4 separate regions of the Homo sapiens genome follow, and all the other regions are linked to region 1. The links are contacts of gene promoters, found by promoter capture Hi-C in blood cells and fetal thymus (Javierre and others, 2016). All regions are on one chromosome and are shown on one strand. The core of a region is centred on a gene start or on the middle of the fragment in contact, and the rest is flanking DNA. Distances in the headings are between cores, read along the strand shown. Region 1 holds the start of FARSB (phenylalanyl-tRNA synthetase subunit beta). Region 2 overlaps PAX3 (paired box 3). Region 3 overlaps CT75 (cancer/testis associated transcript 75). Region 4 has its middle 30 kb from the start of ACSL3-AS1.

Region 1 (5,345 bases), core at 1,687-4,186:
CCCAAATTCTTGCCAAGATCTGATTTTTTTCAGACTTTAAGACTTCTAGCAGTCTCCTAGGTATAAACATGTATGTCCTTATAATTTTTATTTGCATCTCCTTAATTTCTGCTGAGCTGAGAGTTTTTCCATGCCTTTTGTCCAGCTCGTCTTTCCTTCCTAGGAAATGCTGCCACCTCATTCCTGCTTTCAGTCTGGCCCCAAAGTTAGATGAAAGAAGCATGTACCTACATTTTGTGATATACGATCTCATCATTTTCCATGTACCTTTCCTTTCAGTTAGCTAATGCCATTTGTGATGAGCCCTAGTGGCCTAGTTTCCTCTTTTCCATTAGAATCTTCTAACAGTTTAGCTTCTCACAGAGAAGGGACAGAGTACCTGTAACATGTGCAATGATAAAAAGTAGGATAGGTCAGTTGGGGGATGTGAGAGATGGGAACAAAATGCCCCTTGGTGGTCTGAGACTAGCAGAAAACTAACTAGGAGGATTAAAAAAAATGACAGTTGCCCCATTTCCAGGACCTCTGACATGATAAGAACTATACTAGTTATTTATGAGTATTATTTCAAATTCTTACAATAATTCTTTTTTAGTTTTTAAGACAAGGTCTCACTTTGTCACCCAGGCTGGAGTGCTGTGGCGCGATCACAGCTCACCACAGCCTCAACCTCCCGGGCTCAAGTGATCCGCGTAGATGGGATCATAGGTGTGTTGCCGCCATGCCTGGCTAATTTTTCTTTTTGTTTAGAGATGGGGTCCAACTCTGTTGCCCACGCTGGTTTTGAAATCCTGGGCTCAAGTAATCCTCCCACCTCGGCCTCCCAAAGTGCTGGAATTACAGATATGGGACACAATAATTCTTTAAGGTGTATATTATTATCCCTATTTTATGGATGAGGAAACTGAGGTTCAGAGGCCACAGAACACTTTGGAGTGCCCAAAGCAGAGCAGGTCAGCAGGAAGTCCTTTGGTTATTTATTATTACTATTTTGTTGTTGTTGTTGTTATTGCTTTTAAGACAGAGTCTTGCTCTGTCACCCAGGCTGGAGTGCAGTGGCGTGATCTTGGCTCACTGCAACCTCTGCCTCCTGGGTTAAAGTGATTCTCAGTCCTCAGCCTCCCCAGTAGCTGGGATTACAAGTGCCCACCACCACACCCAGCTAATTTTTGTAATTTTAGTAGAGATGGGGTTTTATCATGTTGGCCAGGCTGGTTTCCAACTCTTGACCTCAAGTGATCTGCCCACTTCAGCCTCCCAAAGTGTTGGTATTACAAGTGTGAGCCATCATGCCTGGCACTAGTCCTTTGCTTATTAATTGAGCAGAAAGCACCAATTTTAGGTGGAAAGCTGTATTTTGCATTGGGGATGTTTGCCATTTATGGGGTGTTGCCAATCTGTTATGTTGGTCACTGGGAAGGGACTGCCTTCCCATGGAGGGGAGCTAATACTGTATAGTGAAAAACTGCTTGATTAATAGTTAGGGTGGCTTACATCTGGCTCAGCTTTTCTCCCCTCATGTGAAGGACTTTGGAAGAAGCCCTCACTCACTGTACAGTAGAAAGGATTAGGGCAAGGCTCCCCCTGGAACTGCCAGTTTGTGCCTTAGTTTCATTACCTGTAAAACAGGGATAATGGTACCTATCTTGATGTATTAGTTTCCCTTGGCTGCTGAAACAAATTACCACGAACTTGCTGACTTAAACCATAAATTTATGCTCTCACAGTTCTGGAGGCCAGAAACCCAAAATCAGTTTCACTGGGCCCAAATCAGCATGCATTATAGGGCTGCCCCATGGGCTGGGCGTGAATCTGTCCTTGTCTCTGTTTATTTCAGGGATACATGTGCAGGATGTGAAGGTTTGTTACATAGGTAAATGTATGCCATGGTGGTTTGCTGCCCAGATCATCCCATCACCTAAGTATTAAGCCCAGCATCTATTAGCTATTCTTGATGCTCCCCGCTCCTCCACCCCCTCACCCCCAGTGTGTGCTTGTCTCTTTGTTTCTGGTGGCTGCTGGCATCCTTGGGTTGTGGCTGCCATACTCCAATCTCTGCCACCGTGGCTAAATCGTCTCTCTCAACCTCCCTTTTATGATTTGATGAGGATACTGTGATTCCATTTAGTGTTCGTCTTTCGAATCCAGGATAATCTTCATCTCAAAATCCTTAACTTAACCTGCAAAGACGCTGTTTCCATATAAAGTTACATTTAGAGGTTGCAGGGATTAGGGTCTGATATTATTGGGGGCCGTTATTCAGCCTATTACACTCAGGGTTGTTTTAAGGAGGAAATTTAATGCTGGCAGAGGGCTGAGCACAGCCCACTGACAGCAGAGAGCACTGAGCAAATAGACAAAAAAAGAGGTCTCTTACAATGCCTCCCTTATAGGGCTGCCGTAAAGTTCAAACAAAGCACAGGTATATCACTTATACGAGTAGAGGAGAGATTAAAGAATGAAGTAAAAACTGAGGTCTGTTAACAGCCCCTCTCCCGCCGCCAGGATTTGCACACCTTTCTCTGCAGGAAGCCTTGAACCCTCTCCACTCGCATTTCCACCACCTCCAGGCAAGATCTCCCACGTGGAGGCCCCACCCCCTCCCTGACGCGCCCCACTCTCGCCCCGCCCACCTGGTGGGCGTCCCCGGCCGTTAGCGCCCTGGAAGCATCCGGGACTTCAGGGTCAGTACATTACAATGCCTGACAAATCCTAGCCAGTTCTATCAAATTATATCTTTCTTACAGGCTTTTAAGCTATTAGTCTCATAAAGATACATTTAATCAGCGAGGTAATGGCATGATGAGTGTTTTTAGGTTAAAAAGAGAACAGGAACTGTTGCCAGCAGAATGGCGATATTCAAGACAACACGCACAAGAAGAGGCGGGTCCTACGCGCTTCGCTAGGGAAGCCCGGGTCAGCTCGCTGCGCAGGCGCAGTGAGTTCGACACACCATGCCGACTGTCAGCGTGAAGCGTGATCTGCTCTTCCAAGCCCTGGGCCGCACCTACAGTGAGTGGCGGCCCTATACGTTGGGCCCTACGCCTCTTCTCGGAGGCAGGGCCTCCCTCCAAAAGGGCAATGTGGCGACATTCATGCCTTCCTGAAGGTTTTGGCTCCGGGAGGCCGGGGTTTACGCGGGAAGGCCGATGATGGTGGCGGTCCGGCTGGGCTGTGGTAGCCTCGGAACCGGCATCGCAGCGGTGCCACTGCTTGTGCCCGGCTTGCCGTGTCATTCATTCAGCGATCTGCCATCGAGTGCCTACAGCGTGCCTGGCACCGACATCCAAGCCAGGGGATAGAACAGGAAGGAAACCCGGGGTTGCATCCCGAGCGTAGCCAGTTAATTGCAATAGCAGCGCTGTGGGAACTCAGTTTATAAGGGGGTAGGAGGAGAGATTTGTGCAGCGGGGTGGAGAACGGCATTCCACCTGTCTTCGTTTTATTAATGTTTCCTGAGCGCCTGTTATGTGTCAGGCACTGTTCTAAGAGCTTAGGACTAGAGCTGTGCACACGACACGTCAGGTCCACGTTCTGTCTGATGGAGGCAGACAATTAACCAGCACGTTAATAAAATGATTTCGGATAATGTTAAATGCCATCAAGGAAAGAAAAGGTGTTGTGCCAAGAACAACTTTAGATAGGGTGGTAACATTTGATCTGAGACCTGAATGGGGAGTATTAAATGGGTGTAGACTTCATTCTACATTTCATCTTTTAATCAGTTCTAAAAACACAACCATTGAAAAAAAGGAGGGAGATATTAAATGCAGTTATCAGTTACCTCACAGCCGTAGCAGCTGCCCCACCCTATTTTTTTTTTTATTTTTATTTTTTGAGACGGAGTCTGCACTCCCAGGCTGGAGTGCAGTGGCGCGATCTCGGCTGACAGCAACCTCCGTCTCCCTGTTCAAGCAATTTTCTGCCTCAGCCTCCCGAGTAGCTGGGATTACAGGCGTCCGCCATCGCGCCCGAGTAATTTTTTTGTATTTTTAGAGAGACCAGGTTTCACCATCTTGGCCAGGCTGGTCTTAAACTCCTGACCTCGTGATCCACCTGCCGCGGCCTCCCAAAATGCTGGGATTACAGGCGTGAGCCACCGCGCCCGGCCCCCACCCCATAATTTTTAGCTTGTATAAAGGCTGGACCAACTGGTTCGTGAGAGCTGTTTTTTTTGTTTTTAGGGCTCAGTGTGTTAACAAAGGCCTAATTGGTTTAATGACAGCCACCGCTTCCCAGAATAAGATTACTGTTACAGTGAAAATAAAGCTGGCTTTTAAGAATCTTTCCTAAGTGTGTACTTTTAGATAGTACCTATTCTCTATGTGATATTCTTCGTAAGTTCTGCCATAAGTCCCTGAAAGTAAAGGAAATACAAGGGTATTGTATTACTCTTACCCTTTGTACTTGGCTCTAATCGCCTAATCGCTTTATTTTATAATGAGCTTATTTATATTTCTTACCTGCCCTTCTAAACCATATTCTCACTAATGGGATGTGGTACAGGTTAATAATTCCTTATCCAAAATGCTTGAGACCAGAAGCGTCTTGGATTTTGGATTTTGGGATATTTGCATATACATAATGAGATATTTTGGGGGTGGGACCAAGTCTAAACATGAAATTGATTTATATTTCACATATACCTTATATGCATAGCCTGAAGTTAATTTTATGGAATACTTTAAATAATTTTTTTTTGCATGAAACAAGGTTTTGACTGTGTTTTTGACAAGTCACATGGAGTCAGGTGTGGAATTTTCCACTTGTGACATCATGTCTGCACTTTAAGGTTTTGGGTTTTGGAGCATGTCAGATTTCAGATTTTTGGATTGGGAATGCTCAGTCTGTATACCTGAATTGCCTAAGATGGTAGGTGGCAAATATTTGTTCAAAACATCTATAATCAGTTCCCATCCCAGTCTCCATTTCTAGGGAGGTAAGAAATAATCCAGATTTTTAAAAATGGTGAGATTTATAACCTATTTACTATCATCTGATGTTTTAACATATTCTGTCTGCTTCCCTTTTTTTTTCATATTGTCAGTGATCAATTAAGATTGATTTTTTCACAAATATGTGTTTGTTAGCTACTGAATCTTTTAAGGTCCAGGTACATGGCTGATGCTTGTAATCACAGCACTTTGGGAGGACGAGGTGGGCAGATTGCTTGAGCTCAGGAGTTGGAGACCAGACTGGGCAACACAGCAAAACCCTGTCTCTACAAAAAGTAGCTGGGTGTGGTGGTGTATACGTGTAGTCCCAGCTACTTGGGAGGCTGTGGCCGGAGGATCGCTTAAACCAAGGCGGTCAAGGCTGTAGTGAGCGGTGATCAAGCCACTGCA
Region 2 (5,345 bases), core at 1,375-3,874, 370 kb after region 1:
AGGAGACGGCAGGGGGGAGGGGAGGATTGTGTCTCAGTGGCTTTGGCCTTGGGGGTGGTTGCCCCTCTTCAAATGCACAAATGGTCAAGAGTGGCCAGGGGTCCCACTCATGCCTGAAGTTTCCTCACCTGGGACTTGGAGTTCATTGGGCAAAGTTAGTTTTGGAGTTGCCAGAGGGACAGGCGGCTTTCCAGGTGGGCTCACAGCCGTTGCCGACTGTGACTAGCTGGGTCCGAGCCCTTACCAGAGTGGCATCCAAGTGGGACTTCTTTTATCTTCATTGCCCAACTCTGTGGCAGCCAGTGGCTCTCCTGAGCAGCTGCTTTACAAAGCAATGCAAAATCTGCACACAACCTGGAAGGAACATTTAGATTTGGAAGTTACAGATCCAAATGGCTGATTTGAGGGAAAAACAAGTGTAGATACTCTGATGCACACAAGAAATCAAAGACATGTCAAACCACAGCAGGTTGGGCAGGGAGATGCTTCCTTTGCTTTATGACAGAGGCCTCCTATGGACTCAGCCTAAATCCTCTTTTTGGAGAGGTGCATTTTTCTGCCTTGGTCTCTGAGAAGACACCTTGGCTTTTATCCCAGGCCTAGCTGCAGAATAGAGGTGCTGAGAAGGGAGGAAGGCAGGGAGTCAGACAACCCCAAACCAAATGTGCTCCTGTGGGCAGTGGGGAGAAGAGCCCAGAGCAGTCACAGAGGCTGGGGACTCACGGCTTTGCTACTTGTTGCTGGAGGCTCCGGCGCTGGCAGACTGGCTGCTCTCTCGCAGTACAGGCGACTGAGGCCCAGGAGACAAAACGTCCCAAATGAGCTGGTCAAACATTTGTACAACTTTTCCAGCTTTTACAAAGAAGTCCTTCTCTACACAATCTACACTTGGAGATGAACTTGGGAGACAAAGCCTGGAGAGTCCATTGAAACTCACACTTTAGCTCAGCCCAGACAAAGCTCCAGCTCGGAGCAGCTTGATGTGAACAAAGGAAGGCAACCTTTTTATAATTCAAGGAGAAAAGAAGAGAAAACAGCACCACAAAAGGCTGAGAATAGACATTATGGGCTTGCAATGAGGGATGAATTATTCAATGAGCCCCAATAGCTGCTGCGCCGGGAAGTTTTATGGACTCTTCAGCGTGGAAAAAGTGGCCATTTCACCTACAAAATGTTTCTAGTCTTTTGGGCTGTCTAGCTGGGCCGGCTGCTATTCAAGGGCAATTGCTACATTTTTAAAATCAGAGTATTCTCCCCAGTGGGGGCTGTGCTGTTGGAAACACACACACACACACACACACACACACACACACACACACACACACACACACCTTGGAGGCTGAAGCCTGATTTAATTTGGGGTTGTCAAGGAAGATGCAGTGTCTGTCTCTTCAGCATCTCTAGCTCCTTTTTAGATGAGCCTCGGAGGACAAGAGGGGCCCAGAGAAAGGACAGAGTGAGGTGCAGTTTGAAGTCTAGAAACTTCAAAAACTCCTTTCTGTTGTTCGGGCATCAAAAATCCCAGGCTGCCCGCTTGTAAAATAGAATGAATGTTGATAAAGCGTTCTTAGCGCCCTGGCAGAGGGGGAGAAGAAAGCTGAGGGAGGAGGAACTTTGGGGTCCCCTGACCAGTGTGGTGTATTCTTGCCCTTTTCCAGTTAGTGGGTCTGGTGGGTGCTGCTGAGCCTGGCTTTTCAGGGGAATCTTTGGCCTGAGGTCTGCTTGGCAGACACTAGGACAAAAGGGTTGAGCCACTTTGAATGAGGTCAGAATCACCTCATTCTTCTCTCCAGTGGCTTTCTCCCAGATGGTCCTCTTAACTTTCCCAACTTTCCCTTTTCCCTCGCTCAATTCAAGAGCTGAGCCGCTAGCGGTGCTGGTGCGCTCAGGCCCGCGCTCCCTAACGGGCGCGCGCTAAGCATGATGCACCCTTGCTGGATACATCCCTCCAGCTCCATAGCCCAGGAGAAAGGAGAGGGCTGGGCGGTTCACTAACACGAACCCCGCCCGCTATCCCCAATCCCCCTAGCCCCTGGCCCGCGCTGAGACTGGAGCAGAGGCAGCCGGGGGAGCCAAGTCCTGGCCGAGGCATCCGGGGCTGTGGGCACCGCCCTGCGCAGCGGCCGCTCAATGGGCGCCTCTGTTCCTCCCCCGGCTCGGCCTAGCGGGCCCGCGGGCGCCGCCACAATGGGCTGGGCCCCCACTCCTGTGCTCTGCGCCAAAGCGCCGCGCCGCTCCGCCCCCTCCCCTACTCTCTGGCCGGCTCGAAGCTTAGCTCGCCGGGCTGCAGCCGACTCAATTGCCTCCTTTATGTCCTTCTCACTTTCATCTAGACACAGCCCGCCTCCCCCCTTCTTCTCCTCTTTTTTTTTTTCCTCCCTTGCCTGAGGCTCACATTAGTGAAATTTCTGCAACCTCCCCCCATTTTTTTCTTATTTTAAAGAAAGCCCTTAACACAAAAGCGGTGACTAATCAATAGAAACTGCCCCTTCATCATCTCCTCCTCCTCCTCCACCCCTCCTTCTCCCCCTCCAGCAGGGTGACGCTTTTCCTGTTTGTGAGTTTTGGGAAACATTTTTGCTTTGTGCAGTAATGGAATTAGAGGACAGTTGAGGACTGTAAATGGACACGCGACTGCAAGACTCTCGCTTAAATATTTAGATGCAAAGTTACAATTACTGACTTGTTGTAGCAGCTTTGAAGTGGCAGCTCCGGAGCGCAGGGGGAGAGAGGCCAGATTGCCAAATTGATGTTTTGATTGGGGACTGGCGATACACTCTCATAAGACTTTCCTCCCTTTTAAAATCACAAGTGAGCGTGGGAGGTTTGCAACAATTTAAAAGATCCCACTAAGAGATCTCAAGCATAGGTCTGTTGGGGGCTTATATTCCTTTCCTATCTGTTCCCTCTTATTTGACGTTTACAAAAAAGAGTGCTTTCTTAAAAAATTGGAGAAAGTAAAAGTGACGAAAGCTTTGCTCAAGTTTCCATTTTATTTGTAAGCTTGTCAGCTTTTGTAAAGTTAACGAGGACGACTTCAGCTTTTTGGGGGGGAGGTAGGAGAAGATTAATCAGTTTAAAACGCAGAAAAGCATTAAAGGTATTTGGAGTATTTTATTTCCAGTGAAATCATGAAAAGAGCACTCTTATCATTAAGGGACTGCTGAAATCAAGGAAAACGAAGGGCCGTTTCTTTCCCGGTTAGTGAGCAGGAAGGGCCATTTTGGTCCAAGGTTGGGAGGAGGGGAAGGCGGGGGACGAACTTTCCCATAGATTAAAATCATTGGGTATAAGATCATAGGTTTATGGCATCGGATCCTTTATTCAAGTGGACAGACCAGCCCACTTTCCAAGTCCATTTGTTAGGATCACGAATTTGACTTCAATGTCGTTTCGATTCTATAGAGAAAACTTCATATTTTCTGAAGTCCTTGCAAAACTCAGCAAAGAAATATCATCCATTTAAAAAATATTGGAAGTATCAGAACTTGAATTCTATTAGAACACCACGCCGTGTTCTATTTATTAATGTCGCGGTAACAATTTTCCTGCTGGAACGATTTGAAAGGAAACACCAGAGTTCAGCTCCTAGCTTTTTCTTTTTCGCTTGTTTGGTTTGGTTGACTGCTGTGTGCTTACCTTCTAGAGCTTTATTGAAAACATGCAGATTTTCTAATTAATGCTTGAAATCGTATGTTTATTTTGGGGTTTGATTTGATTGTTGATAGCACCGGAACCAGGACGTAGGGGCTTCTACTGAGTAATAATTACTGAAGGGTCATTTAAAAGTCCCCAGGGCTGAGCAATAAAACCCACCCGGGCGGTGAGGCGGAACCAGTCAGCGCGCGGCGGTTCAGGCGAGTGGAATATGCAGAAATCGATCACGTGAATAGGAGTGTGGCCGCTAAATCCGAATGGCTTCAGCATCCATGAATGCATATATTTTGAGAACAACAACAAAAAATTCTTCCTATGAGACTAAATGTTTAAGTTGTACATAAGTAGATGGCCAATGAAAATGAAAAGCTGCAACAGTAACAACAAACAAACGGTGAGAAATGAGAGTTTGGCTTGGGCTGGAACAGAAAATGTTTTACGTTCGATTGGATTCTGTATGACAGGTAACTTATCTATGAGGGTAAATAAAGATTAAAGAACCATTTAGAATGTACATATATAACTAACAAGACACTAAAAGGCAATTAAGCAGTCAGTTTAATGTCTTATCTCACTGGCTGCTCTGGGGTTGTTTTACAAGTAGGAATTAAAATCTGAAAAGGAAGTTTTCAGCAGCTCTGGCCAAATATTGATTAAGTAGCTGTTTGTTGATACCATTGTTACACATTAAAAGGCCGGGAGCGCGGCCCCTCAGTGGTCATCTTCCATTGTGAGGGGTTCTTAACCATAGAGATCAAAGCGGGATCATTTCAATTTATCTGTCCTGGAAAATCCTTCTTTTCCTCTGAAATCTCTAAGGAGGAATTGACCAAATTCTCTTTAAGAAATAGGAACTGAAACCAGTTACATGTTGTAGGTTTGTAGAGAAGACTCATGGGGTGTTTTTAATTATCCTATCGTGATTTCTTACTTAGAACTGAGGCTATGATGGTGAATTTATCATCAAATAGATTCTCATTTTGGGGGGGTGTGGCAGAAAGCATGGCAGCTACTATCTGCCTGTTGCTAAGTTTCTAAATACAAAAGTTTCCCTAAAATTGTCTTCCAAGCTGGAATTATTTAATGAAAACATAGCAGATTTTTATGTAAAAGTAGGTAGGGAATAATTAAATACACAGGAATCTGAGTGTTATATTGACTACATCTCTCTACACGTGTTTCCATAATTTCTGTGTTTATAGATGGTTAGATGACTCTCATGTATATTTCCAATCCTCTATAATTTAGGAATAGATATGTGTTTATGTGTATGTATGTGCATTGTTAGAGTTTATTTATTACACTAAGAATTATGCTGGCACTAAACTATATTTAGTTGCACAAAATGAAGATATGTTTGTCCTATGGATTGCACTTTCTAAAGTCATCAGAAACTGAGGTAACAGCACAGCCTCCCAGTTGTTGAATGCCAGGAGAAATATTTCCTTGAATCATTTTATGACTCTTTTAAACTGTTGATTTTGAGATGAACTATCCGACTTTTGTTTGTTTGTTTAAGAACACAATATATTTGCATAGGTTTTTCTTTTATTATGAAAGCAAAAATCCTGCAAACGAATCTTTTGGAAATACTATCTCTGTGCTTAATTTGCAAATTCCAACAAATAGCACTAACTGAGGTTGTAAAATTCATGCCAGATTTAGGCTTTGGATATGTAACTGTGCAT
Region 3 (5,345 bases), core at 1,579-4,078, 320 kb after region 1:
GAGACACTGAAAATGCAAATATATGGTTGCTTTATGTTGTCTCATATGTCATGTAGGCTTTGTTCATTTGTTTTTATTAATTTTTCTTTGTTTTTGTCCGACTGGGTTTTTTCAAAAGACCAATCTTCAAGTTCTGAAATTTGTTTTTCTTTTTGGTCTAGTCTATTGTTGAAACATTTGAATGTATTTTGTGTTTTGTTTAATGAATTCTTCAGTTCCAGAATTTCTGTTTGGTTTTTTATGATATCTGTCCCTTTGGTAAATTTCTCATTCATATCCTGAATTGTTTTTCTGATTTCTTTATATTGTTTTTCTGACTTCTCTTAAATTTCACTGAGCTTCTTTAATATCATAATATGATTGTTTTTCATAAATTTCTTTTTCATTGGAATCTGTTCGTGGAAAGTTAATTTGTTCCTTTGGAGGTGTCATATTTCCTTGTTTTTTTTTCATGTTTCTTGTGTCCTTATATTGATAGCTGTGCAGCTGGCATAATAGTCACTTCTTCCAATTTTTAAAATTTGCTTTCATTGGGGAGAAATTTTTTCTGAAGACACATCTATGCTATTGGTTGGGTAGGACACTTTGGCCTTGATTGTAGGTGTGTGCAGTAGTGTGGTCTCCATATGATTTCTTTGGATACAAACAGTGTCAGTAGTGCCTATGATTTCTTTAGTGGCTTAGGGGGCTGTTATTAGTAGGGGCTGTGGTAAAGTTTTGCTGTGAACAGGCATGTCAAGCAAGCCAATCCTTGGGTTCCAGTGGTGACAGCAGCAGTCCAAGCATCCCTGTCCTTGGGCCCCATGGTAGTATACACTGGCACTGGTGTTAGTGGGTTCAGGTCAGCTGATTATTGGGCCACCAGGAGGATTCCTTGGGTGTTGGCAGTCACAGCAGTGAGCCAAGTGGGTGGGAGGGTCCTTGGACCCCTGGGCATCAAGTATGGCCTGGGTGATGGCAGTAGCAGTGGCAGGACAATATCTGGCTATCCTGGTGTTGGTGCTTGGTGCTGACTGTGTTGGGCAGGGTGGGCTTGTCCCTAGGCCTGCAGCTGGGGCATACAAGTGGGTGGCAGCTGTGGTGGTAGTGGCAGGTTGGTGGGGCTGTCCTCAGGCCCCTGGGAGGGGTGCTTAGGTGCCAATAATGGTAGATGAAGTTGGGCAATCCCAAAGCACCCAGACATCATGCTCAGGCACTAGGGGAAGGGGGATGGAGCCGGGTCAGGTGGGCCTATCTTCAGGCCCTCTTGGTGGTACATGTAGGTGCTGGCTGTGGTAGGCCGGAATGTAGTGATCCCAGGCCATTGGCAGAATGCCTGGGTGGGAGCAGCAGCAGCTGTGCCAGGACCCTGCTGCTAGGGAGGGCAGGGTTGCTTTCAGTGGCAACAGTAAGGTGGCTGGGGAGCACACATTTTGGCCTCAGGTGGCTGCTATAAGTGAGATAGCCTTTTTTTGGGATGCCTTTAAATGCACAGTGGCCCTGCTACTGGAGGCAGCTGGGTTACTGACAATGGCTTGCATTTTGGCCTTGGCAGCAGAGCCAGCTGCGGTGGTGAATAAAGGTGGAGAATGTCAATGGGGCTCCAGGGATGTGAAGATACAGGGGCTATTGGGCCCTCCAGCAGAATACAGTATGATAGGGGCTGTGTTCTCAAAATGGTGCCTTCCTGTAGCTGCTTAGGATTTAGGAGCTGTCTAGGACCCTGTGTGAGCTTCCTCTCAGAATGAATACTGTGGGAAGTCTCCAGGCAGCTCCCTATGTTAGTCTCAGGGGCTGCTTGAGTTGAATGGCTCAGGGTCCGGGCTAGGATTTCAGGAGTCCATGGTAAGAAGGTGGACCTGCCGGGGGTTTCTCATTCACCCTTTTCCCACATTGGAGAACTTCTCTAGGCTCCCAGCAGATGCCTGCTGAGCAGGCTGCCTCCCTTCCCCCTCCTTCCTTGTCTTACATGTTTCCTGTCACTTCTCTCTTAAATTCCAGCATTCTCTCTCTCTCTCTCTCTCTCTCTCTCTGTCTCTCTCTCTCTGTCTCTCTCTCTCTCTCTCTCTCTCTCTCTCTCTCTCTCTCTCTCTCGGTGATCTATTTGAAGTGTGATTATGCAGTCACTATCTTGGTTCTTTGTGGAGAAGGCAGCTCCGGATGCCTCTGGTCAGCCATTTTGAGGCCCCTCCTTGGTTGATTAGATTAATAATCTGGCCAGCTGGGATACAGTCATGTATCTGTCTTTCATGTATTTGAATAGTTTCTATATACTCTGTCCCTTTAGTTCAATAGACAAATGTGCATTCTTTTAAAAGTAACAATAGCAACTCTGGTGAAGAAAATTTGAGTTTAAACCAGAAGTGGGTTTACCATGAAACCAATGAAGCTTGTTTCAAGACCCCTTATTTGAACTTGAAGTGTTCCCATGTCCATATGTTCTCATAAAATTCACAGGAATATATTTTAACTGCAAATCTTTAAGACCATTGTTTCTTTCCACTTCAACTTCCCCTTGTTAGGGTTAGGTAGCATCGAAGAAGCCACGGGCATTTTTGGACCGTGTTTAAGGAAGTTGATCTTTGGTTTTGGTTTAGTGAAATATTTATGCAGTTCACAGATTCTTCCGTGTAGAGGTTAGCTGTCCCAGTGCAGAAAACAATTTTCAGTCCTAATCTTACCACTCCCTATATCTGTGCATCTAACTTTATAAAAGGAAGGTGAAGGGCCCCATATAACCCTCATAATATGCCACATTATTAGGGACACCAAAGATAAGCTGGTCAGTGAGTGTCGTCAATTCAGAGTACTTAAAATTACTCCCTGCAACAAACAAATCCCTAAAATGCCTTGAAATTTTACAGCCCATATATGAAATTCACTTGAGAGAAGTGTTTCCAAAATTAATAATAATCCTAAAAATGTACGCGCCAATACCAACAAATTGTGAAGCCAAAAGGAACCTTTCCATACTATTAATTTTTTAAAAATATGTTGTTTGATCCACCATGCTAGAAGAAATACTGATTTCTTCTTCTAGTCTCTCCCAGAAAGTATGACAAAATTCTTGTGGCATGAATAGACAATCAAATAGTATGCAGACAAATAATTTTATTGAGGGGTATGTCAGATAGCTAATTAGTTGAAAAAAATTTTTTTCTGGATTTTGAGATCGTTCCTGAATTTATCAACTTTAAATGTTTTGTTGTGGCAGTGGTTTATTTTATAATTCTAAATGAATACTTAACTTCTTACCAAGCAGTTTTAATTATTTTTCTTAAAAAGGACCTCCAAAATGGTATAAGCTTCAGGTCCATGGGCTTGCCCCTGCTTGAAGTGAGTACCTCACCCACATACTCTAATAGTGGATGGGAAAGAACCTAATGGATCTGCGCTTTACAACTGCCTCAGTCTCCTGAAAACCAAATCTGCTTATTATTAAGTCAGCAAATGCACAGTTGATGGATTGTAATGACTCTGAAGGAATCTGTGTGGCCAGAAAGATAAATAATACATTGTTTAAAGGTTTTTGAATTCTTATAATGTTTTGGAAGAAGACATTTTTTAAAATACAAAAGAAATTAAGAGGGAGGATGTATCATGGTCAGAGACAAAAATACATAAACAACCAATTATGATTAACCATGCTAGATGAAAGGTGATTTGTCTCTTATTTCCATCTATGGGAAATATTACAAAAACATCATCATGTGAAGAGTCAATTAAGCAGATACCATCTAACAGAGGCAGTCTATCTTGGCTCAATATACCCTTAGAATCTGTTTGTTTCTTTTCAGCAAAGGTACTGCTGCACGTAGGATGGTACATGGCTTCAAATAGATGATGCGAATGGCATATGGAAGAAATTAGCCTGTTTCTTTATTGTTAACACATCCGGTTCTCCATACATGTCGAATCTCACTCCCAGCTTTAGCCCTTTATAGGTATAAAGGGAGAAGTCGATTCCTATGTTGGTAGATGTGCCCCTTTGTCTTATGCACTTTCTCTCCTGCACCACTCAATATTTATAATGCAGCATCTGAATCTGTTTCTTTAAAATTCTCTTCTCTTAAGGCTTTTAGTCATACCTTAGATACAGGTTTACAAAAAGAAAAATTTTGAGGCTGTAAAAATTTGATAAACACTTGTTTATACCACATCGAACTGATTTCTTTACATCTTTGTAACAGTACTTCTCAGAGCCTTTAATGAGTAGAAAATATAGAATGTAGTTTGGAATACTTCCCAAATTATTTGATGACAAAAACTTTTTTTTGAGGAACTAATATTTTAGAGACCATAATTTCAGGAAATTCTGCTTCAGACTATAATGAAATGAGACAATGGAATTTAAATGCTTTAACATAAAAACCAAAAAATTATATGGTACTTTGATAATAACTATTATTATTATTATTAAGACTACCATGTTCAAAGGAATCAATTGTTTCTCTCATTCTTTTCTAATAGGTGTCATTTAAACTGTATGTATAGATCTGAAAAGAAGATGCACTAAGACAAACATGTTTGCTTGCATAATTTTCTGCTGTAATAGTTTTGTTTTACAAAGAGATTGAGAAAAATTATACAAGCTTCTAGCTATTGAAATTTTTCCTGTGGTCTCAGTAGTTTTCACTATGTTTTTAAGATTCTTCACTGGATTTATCAAAGAACAGTGACTATCAATGCAACCCCTATCAGAATTCCAATACTTTTTTTGCAAATGTAGAAAAATTCATTCTAAGATTCATGTGGAATCTCAAGGGGCCCTGAATAGCCAAAACAAATTTGGAAAAGAAGAACAAAGTTGGAGCATTCACACTTCCTGATTTCAAAACATATTACAGAGCTACAGAAATCAAAACAATGTGGCACTGTCACAAGCACAGACAAATAGACCAACGAAATAAAATAGAGAGCCCCAGCTGGGCATAGTGGCTCACGCCTGTAATCTCAGCACTTTGGGAGGCTGAGAAGGGCGGATCACCTGAGGTCAGGAGTTCCAGAGCAGCATGGCCAACATGGTGAAACCCCATCTCTACTAAAAATACAAAAATTAGCCAGGTGTGGTGGCACACACCTGTAATCCTAGCTACTCAGGAGGCTGAAGCAGGAGAATTGCTTGAACCCAGGAGGTGGAGGTTACAGTGAGCCAAGATTGCGCCAGCACACTGCAGCCTGGGTGACAGAGTGAGACTTTGTATCAAAAAAAAAAAAAAAAAAAAAAAAATAGAGAGCCCGGAAATAAACCCATGTGTATAATCAAATGATCTTTGACAGGGGTGCCAAGGTCACTCAAGGGGGAAAGGACAGAGAAGTGGAGAAATGGTACTGAGAAAACTGGATATACATGTGCAAAAGGATGA
Region 4 (5,345 bases), core at 1,872-4,371, 290 kb before region 1:
GGCTGGAGTGCAGTGGCACGATCACAGCTCACTGCAGCCTCAACCTCCTGGGCTCAAGCAATCCTCCCACCTCCCTAGTGGACCACAGGTGTGCACCATCACATCTGGCTTTTTTTTTTTTTTTTTTTTTTTGTAGAGCTGAGGTCTCCCTATGCTGCCCAGGCTGGTCTTGAACTCCTAGGCTGAAGAGATCCTCCTGCCATAGCATCCCGAAGTACTGGGATGACAGGTATGAGCCACCATGCCCAGCCTGTATAATGTTCCGGAACTCACAAGCATGAGGATTGCTAATGTCTCGCAAGCATAGCTTCTCAACAGGTTTTTCCAATAAAAGTGATCATCTTTCTGTATCCTTAAAAGCAAAGAAAAAGCAGGAAGGACTTGGAGGGGGGAAAAACAGGAGATCCCAATTAAAAAATTCAAAAAGCAATTCTTGTTACCAGTACTACAATAAAAAAAACTGTCCTTTTTTCACATATCTGTAATCATATCTAATTGTCAGCCTCGACATCACAGACACACAGGTGACTGGTGATCATGGGTGTCTTGCTATGAGTCTGCGTTCTTCACCATCTCTACCTGTGAAAACAGTATTGCCAGGGTTTGGGGTGGGAGAAAAATAAGAAAATTTTGTTTTCTACTGCACCAGATTCCCATCACTGTGTATAAGCAAGGCTCTGTGTCCGTGCCACTTTGGGGAGATGGAAGATACAGAGCTGGTGAACATCAGCTGCATGGTGAACAGCCCATAGGCTGGTGATTCAAAGAAGAGGAATGGGCGGCAGACGGTCACAGACAGCAACATCCATCACCCACGCAGCCCTGCTGCTTCCTGTAAATGCCGCAGAGGAGAGAAGATGAGATATACAAACACAAATCTGCCTTCGGATTTTACATCAAATTCCTGCCCATTTTTATTTTACTCATTATTAGCATATTCCCGGAAGGTAGAACAAAACAATTTCTCAAATGACTCAGAAGGCATATGAAATTATTGTTTATTAGCAGGGAGGGAAAGGAGGAAGGAAGGAGGTGGAAAAAAGAGACCCATGACAAAAAAAAACCTAACACAGGGCCGGGTGCGGTGGCTCACGCCTGTAATCCAAGCACTTTAGGAGGTGGAGGCGGGAAGATCACTTGAGGCCAGGAGTTTGAAACCAGCCTGGGCAGCATAGTGAGTCCCTTTCTCTACAAATAATTAAATTAATTAATTAGTTAATTAATAAATAAGCCAGATGTGGCAGTTCGCTCCTGTAGTCGCAGCTACTTGGGACACTGAGGCAGGAGGATTGCTTGAGCCATGATCACACCACTGCATTCCAGCCTGGGTGACAAAGCAAGACCTTATTTCAAAAAGCAAAAAAAGGGAGAAAAGAAAACTAACACAGTGTCTACAAAGGCTCAGAGGGACGGGACCTGCCTGGGTCACACTACACACCATGTTTCCCCTTCTTTCCCACATTTTAGCTAATTGATGATAAAAGGCTAATTAATGAAAATGATAGTATACCCAACATTCACTCAGAATCTCTTAGAAGAAAGTCATATGACACTAGACTTGGAGGATACAAAGAATCACTAAAACACCCATTCCTCAGGAATTTAAATTTATCTGAGAAGTCAGGAGATATATATGTACATACACACACACACACACACACACTCAAAACCAAATAACAATTGGATAGTTTACAAAACTGCTAAGGTTTGATCTACCTAGCCATTCCTGTTAGAAAGCTGTCCTGTAGATGAGCTTCCTCTTAAGCACAAAAATGGGAGTAAAAGCTTTGTGTTGTCACACTGATTCTAATGGTAAAAACTGAAATAACCTAAGTGCCTAACAATGAGAGAATGGTTTACATTGTGATACACCCATTCTGTGGAATATTGCCTCGCCGTTAACAAGGTTATTTATGAATCAGGTCCATTATATATGTACTGACACAGGAAGATGTCCAATGTATGCTCACAATAAAAAAGGCAAGTTATAGAATCTAGACCAGGATCTAACTGCGGTCTGTATTAGTGTGCTAGGGCTGCCATAACAAAATCACAGACTAGGTGGTTTGAGCAACAGAAATTCACTTTCTCACAATTCTGTTGGCTAGAAGGACAAGATCAAGGTGTCAGCAGGGCTGGTATCTTTTGAGACCTCTCTTTTTGGGTTGGCATCCCACACTCTTCACTCTGTGGAGATCTGTGTCCTGATCTCCTTGTGCAAGGACTCTAGTCATATTGGATTAGGGGCCACATTAATGACCTCATATTAACTTAATCACCTTATTCAAGGCCCTATCTCCAAATTTACTGACATTCTGAGGTACTAGAGATCAGGACTTCAACATATACATTTGGGAGGAGAGACAAAATTTAATTCATTATATGTTTTCTAAAAACCCTGTGTATATAGGGAGGATTTCCATTTTTAGTCTATATCTCCAAATTACTAGAAATTTTATAATGAGCATAAATTCATGTTATGCTAAATAAGCAAATCTTTCAAAAACTAATATGGTATTTTTACACCTGTTTGTCTAACATTCCAAATAAGCTTAAAAAAAAATCACAATAGCAGGGAGACTCAAGCCTGGTCTGTAAAGGACGTCTGGTGCAATCATCCACAGGTCTCAGCACTGGCCCTGATGAGGGATCACAGGTCAACACTGACACCAGACCCAGAGCTAGAATCAGCCAATAAAACAACCAAAAGGCAAAGAAGAACTGGGCAACTTTCAGGGAAAAGATAGAAGAAAAGCATCTTTCTGAATTTCCCTTTTCTTATAGGAGCTGTTTTTAAAAATTAGCAAATCATCTCCTCTTTTTAAAATGGATGATCTACAGAAAAATATACAATATGATATTGTATTAGTCCATTTTCACGCTGCTGATAAAGACATACTGGAGACTGGGTAATTTACAAAGAAAAGTAAGTTTCATGGACTCTCAGTTCCACATGGCTAGGGAGGCCTCACAATCATGGTGGAAGGCAAAAGGCACATCTTATATGGTGGGAGGCAAGAGAGAATGAGAGCCAAGTGAAAGGGGAAACCCCTTATAAATCATCAGATCTCGTGAGACTTATTCACTATCACGATAACAGTATGGGGGAACTGCCCCCATGATTCAATGATCTCCCACCAGGTCCCTCCCGCAACATGTGGGAATTGTAGGAGATACAATTCAAGATGAGATTTGGGTGGGGACACAACCAAACTATATCAGATATTGATACTAATAAAGTTTTACATTTAACAGGAGGAGGAGAAAGGGCATAGCAAATCTATTGGACACACAAGAAGAAAATCTTCTTGAAAAGAGCTATTTAGGGGCCAAGGTCCTACATAATTCAGTTACAGAAAAATTAAAATTGAGTCATGAAGCAGTAAATAAAAGGATTAAGAACATGAAAATAAAGATATGCAGAACATGGGCAGAATTACCAGAAAAAAAATGCACATACAGAAGACAGGCACAGATACCCATATATCACGTTATAAAGCTGGAACAAACAGAACAAGATTGATAAACAAGGGTATAGTTGAAGGGAGCTTTCAAAAAATATATAAATATGAATGGGATTAGAAAATAAAAGGGTTTCTAGTTTCTTCTTTACTAGAACACTTAAGATAGCTTCAAATATTTTTTCTTAACAATTGATAATTTTGCTAAGATAAAAAATTTTAAAGCTTATGGTCCATATTTTAAGCTAGGCTTCTTTACACAAGCTTGACTTTTTATTGTAGGAGTAAGTAAAGCCAATGTAAAGAATTTTGAAAGTATGAAGAGAAAAATGTCAATTACAATTTTTGGCCAATGATTGCACATTTCTTTCTAGACTTTTCTCTATGAAATATATACACAACACACACACACACACATTATGACATAAAGTGCCTACTAAATTTTGATTCCTACTTTCTTCCCCCATAAAATTCATAGTATGAAGTCCTCCTCACAATATAAAAAGCTGTATAAACATTTTTTGTGCCTCTATGATCAAGTGGATAGTGTCTAATATTTACCTGATATCTTACTTTAGTGCACTTGTTTCCAATTGATGGATTGCTATAAACAACTTCACAATGAAGGTCTTCCTGAAGAAATCTCAACCCGCGTCTCTTGAGTATTTTCTAAGGTCAGATTCCTAGATGTGGAATTAGTGGGCAAACCATAGGAACTTTTTTAAGCCTCTGGTGCATCTCACTTTCCTACATGAGGTGAACTGCTGATGTGCTGAACAGGGTAAAAACAGATTTGGGTGGCTATTTTTGACCATGGCTACCAAAAAGCCATCTTTTCTTACATTTGTGGAAACGTTTAAAAGAATTCTAAGGCCGGGAGCGGTGGCTCACGCCTGTAATCCCAGCACTTTGGGAGGCCAAGGCGGGTGGATCACCTGAGGTCCGGAGTTCGAGAACAGCCTAGCTAACATGGTGAAATCCCGTCTCTACTAAAAATATAACATTAGCTGGGTGTGGTGGCAGGTGCCTGTAATCCCAGCTACTCAGGAGGCTGAGGCAGGAGAATCACTTGAACCGGGAGATGGAGGTTGTAGTGAGCTGAGATCGTACCACTGTACTCCAGTCTCGGCCACAGAGTGAGACACTGTCTCAAAAAAAAAAAAAAGAAAACAGAAAAAAAATTCTCGGAGTTCTTGCCCCAATGCTCTCAAGACATCCAAAACATTCAAACCAAGAGAGGACTGGAGTGAGGATGGCGTTAGTGCTAAGGCTGAGCAGAGAGGTATTATACAGGGCAGGCAGAGCATCTAGCAGAATAAGGGACTGTGCCCTGGCCACTCATGGAGGTCCTCAGATGGGGTGACTCACAGCGGGGTTGGGAGCTTTGAGGACAGCACATTGCTGGGTTGTTAGAGCTGGATGTTTTATATGTGAGCACCTTCCCACACAACACCATTCCTTTCCCGCCAGGCCTGAAGCCCCATCCTTCCAGGCCCCCATTAAAGGCATTAGGACTTTTAAGTCTTCAACATCCTCCTTTTCCCAGATTCCAGACAAGGGCCTTCTGAGCGATAACAGGGCCCAGAATATGGCCATGGGGTTGACAAAGTGGCAGGGCTAGGCAGCGCGTTGGAGCTATAGGCTTCTATACATAAACATTTTGAAAGTTGGGGCATCAAATTATTTGGACAACATAGTTGTTTTTCATTTCTATTTTGAGGAAAAATGTGGAATTTTGCCTTTATCACAGAACAAATCTTGCAAAGCTATGTTCTTCTGATAGCTATAATCTTTTTTCTTGGGAGTCAGGGGTGGGGAAGGCATACATACAGCCCTCCTAATAAACCCTCATCCTGTGCCACTCTCTTATACCTTTTGTATTCT

The links. The method cuts DNA at HindIII sites, captures the fragments that hold promoters and counts their contacts. A CHiCAGO score of 5 or more calls a contact.
Region 2: a fragment that was not itself captured here is called in contact with the fragment with the promoter of FARSB in region 1 in 2 of 17 cell types (megakaryocytes and monocytes); the score reaches 5.7 in megakaryocytes.
Region 3: a contact is called between a fragment that was not itself captured here and the fragment with the promoter of FARSB in region 1, in 1 of 17 cell types (activated CD4 T cells). The highest score is 5.1, in activated CD4 T cells.
Region 4: a fragment that was not itself captured here is called in contact with the fragment with the promoter of FARSB in region 1 in 2 of 17 cell types (fetal thymus and monocytes); the score reaches 6.2 in fetal thymus.

What each region holds. Positions count from the first base shown.
Region 1 is chr2:222,653,683-222,659,027 of GRCh38, reverse strand. It overlaps FARSB (phenylalanyl-tRNA synthetase subunit beta), which reads left to right and starts at 2,936. Exons shown (of 17, transcript NM_005687.5): 1 at 2,936-3,012. The coding sequence starts at 2,955. LOC124907985 (a long non-coding RNA gene) reads right to left here and starts at 2,595. Exons shown (of 2, transcript XR_007088095.1): 1 at 2,517-2,595. RefSeq lists a silencer at 2,513-2,709 and an enhancer at 2,826-2,875. The HindIII fragment of the contact is 12,443 bases long and covers 1-5,345 here.
Region 2 is chr2:222,287,956-222,293,300 of GRCh38, reverse strand. The region is part of intron 4 of PAX3 (paired box 3); the gene reads left to right. Among named protein-coding and RNA genes, the nearest start is that of CCDC140, 7.5 kb to the left of the region's middle. RefSeq lists enhancers at 1,616-2,529, 2,530-3,443. The HindIII fragment of the contact is 703 bases long and covers 2,273-2,975 here.
Region 3 is chr2:222,329,501-222,334,845 of GRCh38, reverse strand. The region is part of intron 1 of CT75 (cancer/testis associated transcript 75); the gene reads right to left. Among named protein-coding and RNA genes, the nearest start is that of RNF228, 12 kb to the right of the region's middle. The HindIII fragment of the contact is 916 bases long and covers 2,371-3,286 here.
Region 4 is chr2:222,946,566-222,951,910 of GRCh38, reverse strand. It overlaps the pseudogene LOC100419511. Among named protein-coding and RNA genes, the nearest start is that of ACSL3-AS1, 30 kb to the right of the region's middle. The HindIII fragment of the contact is 1,135 bases long and covers 2,554-3,688 here.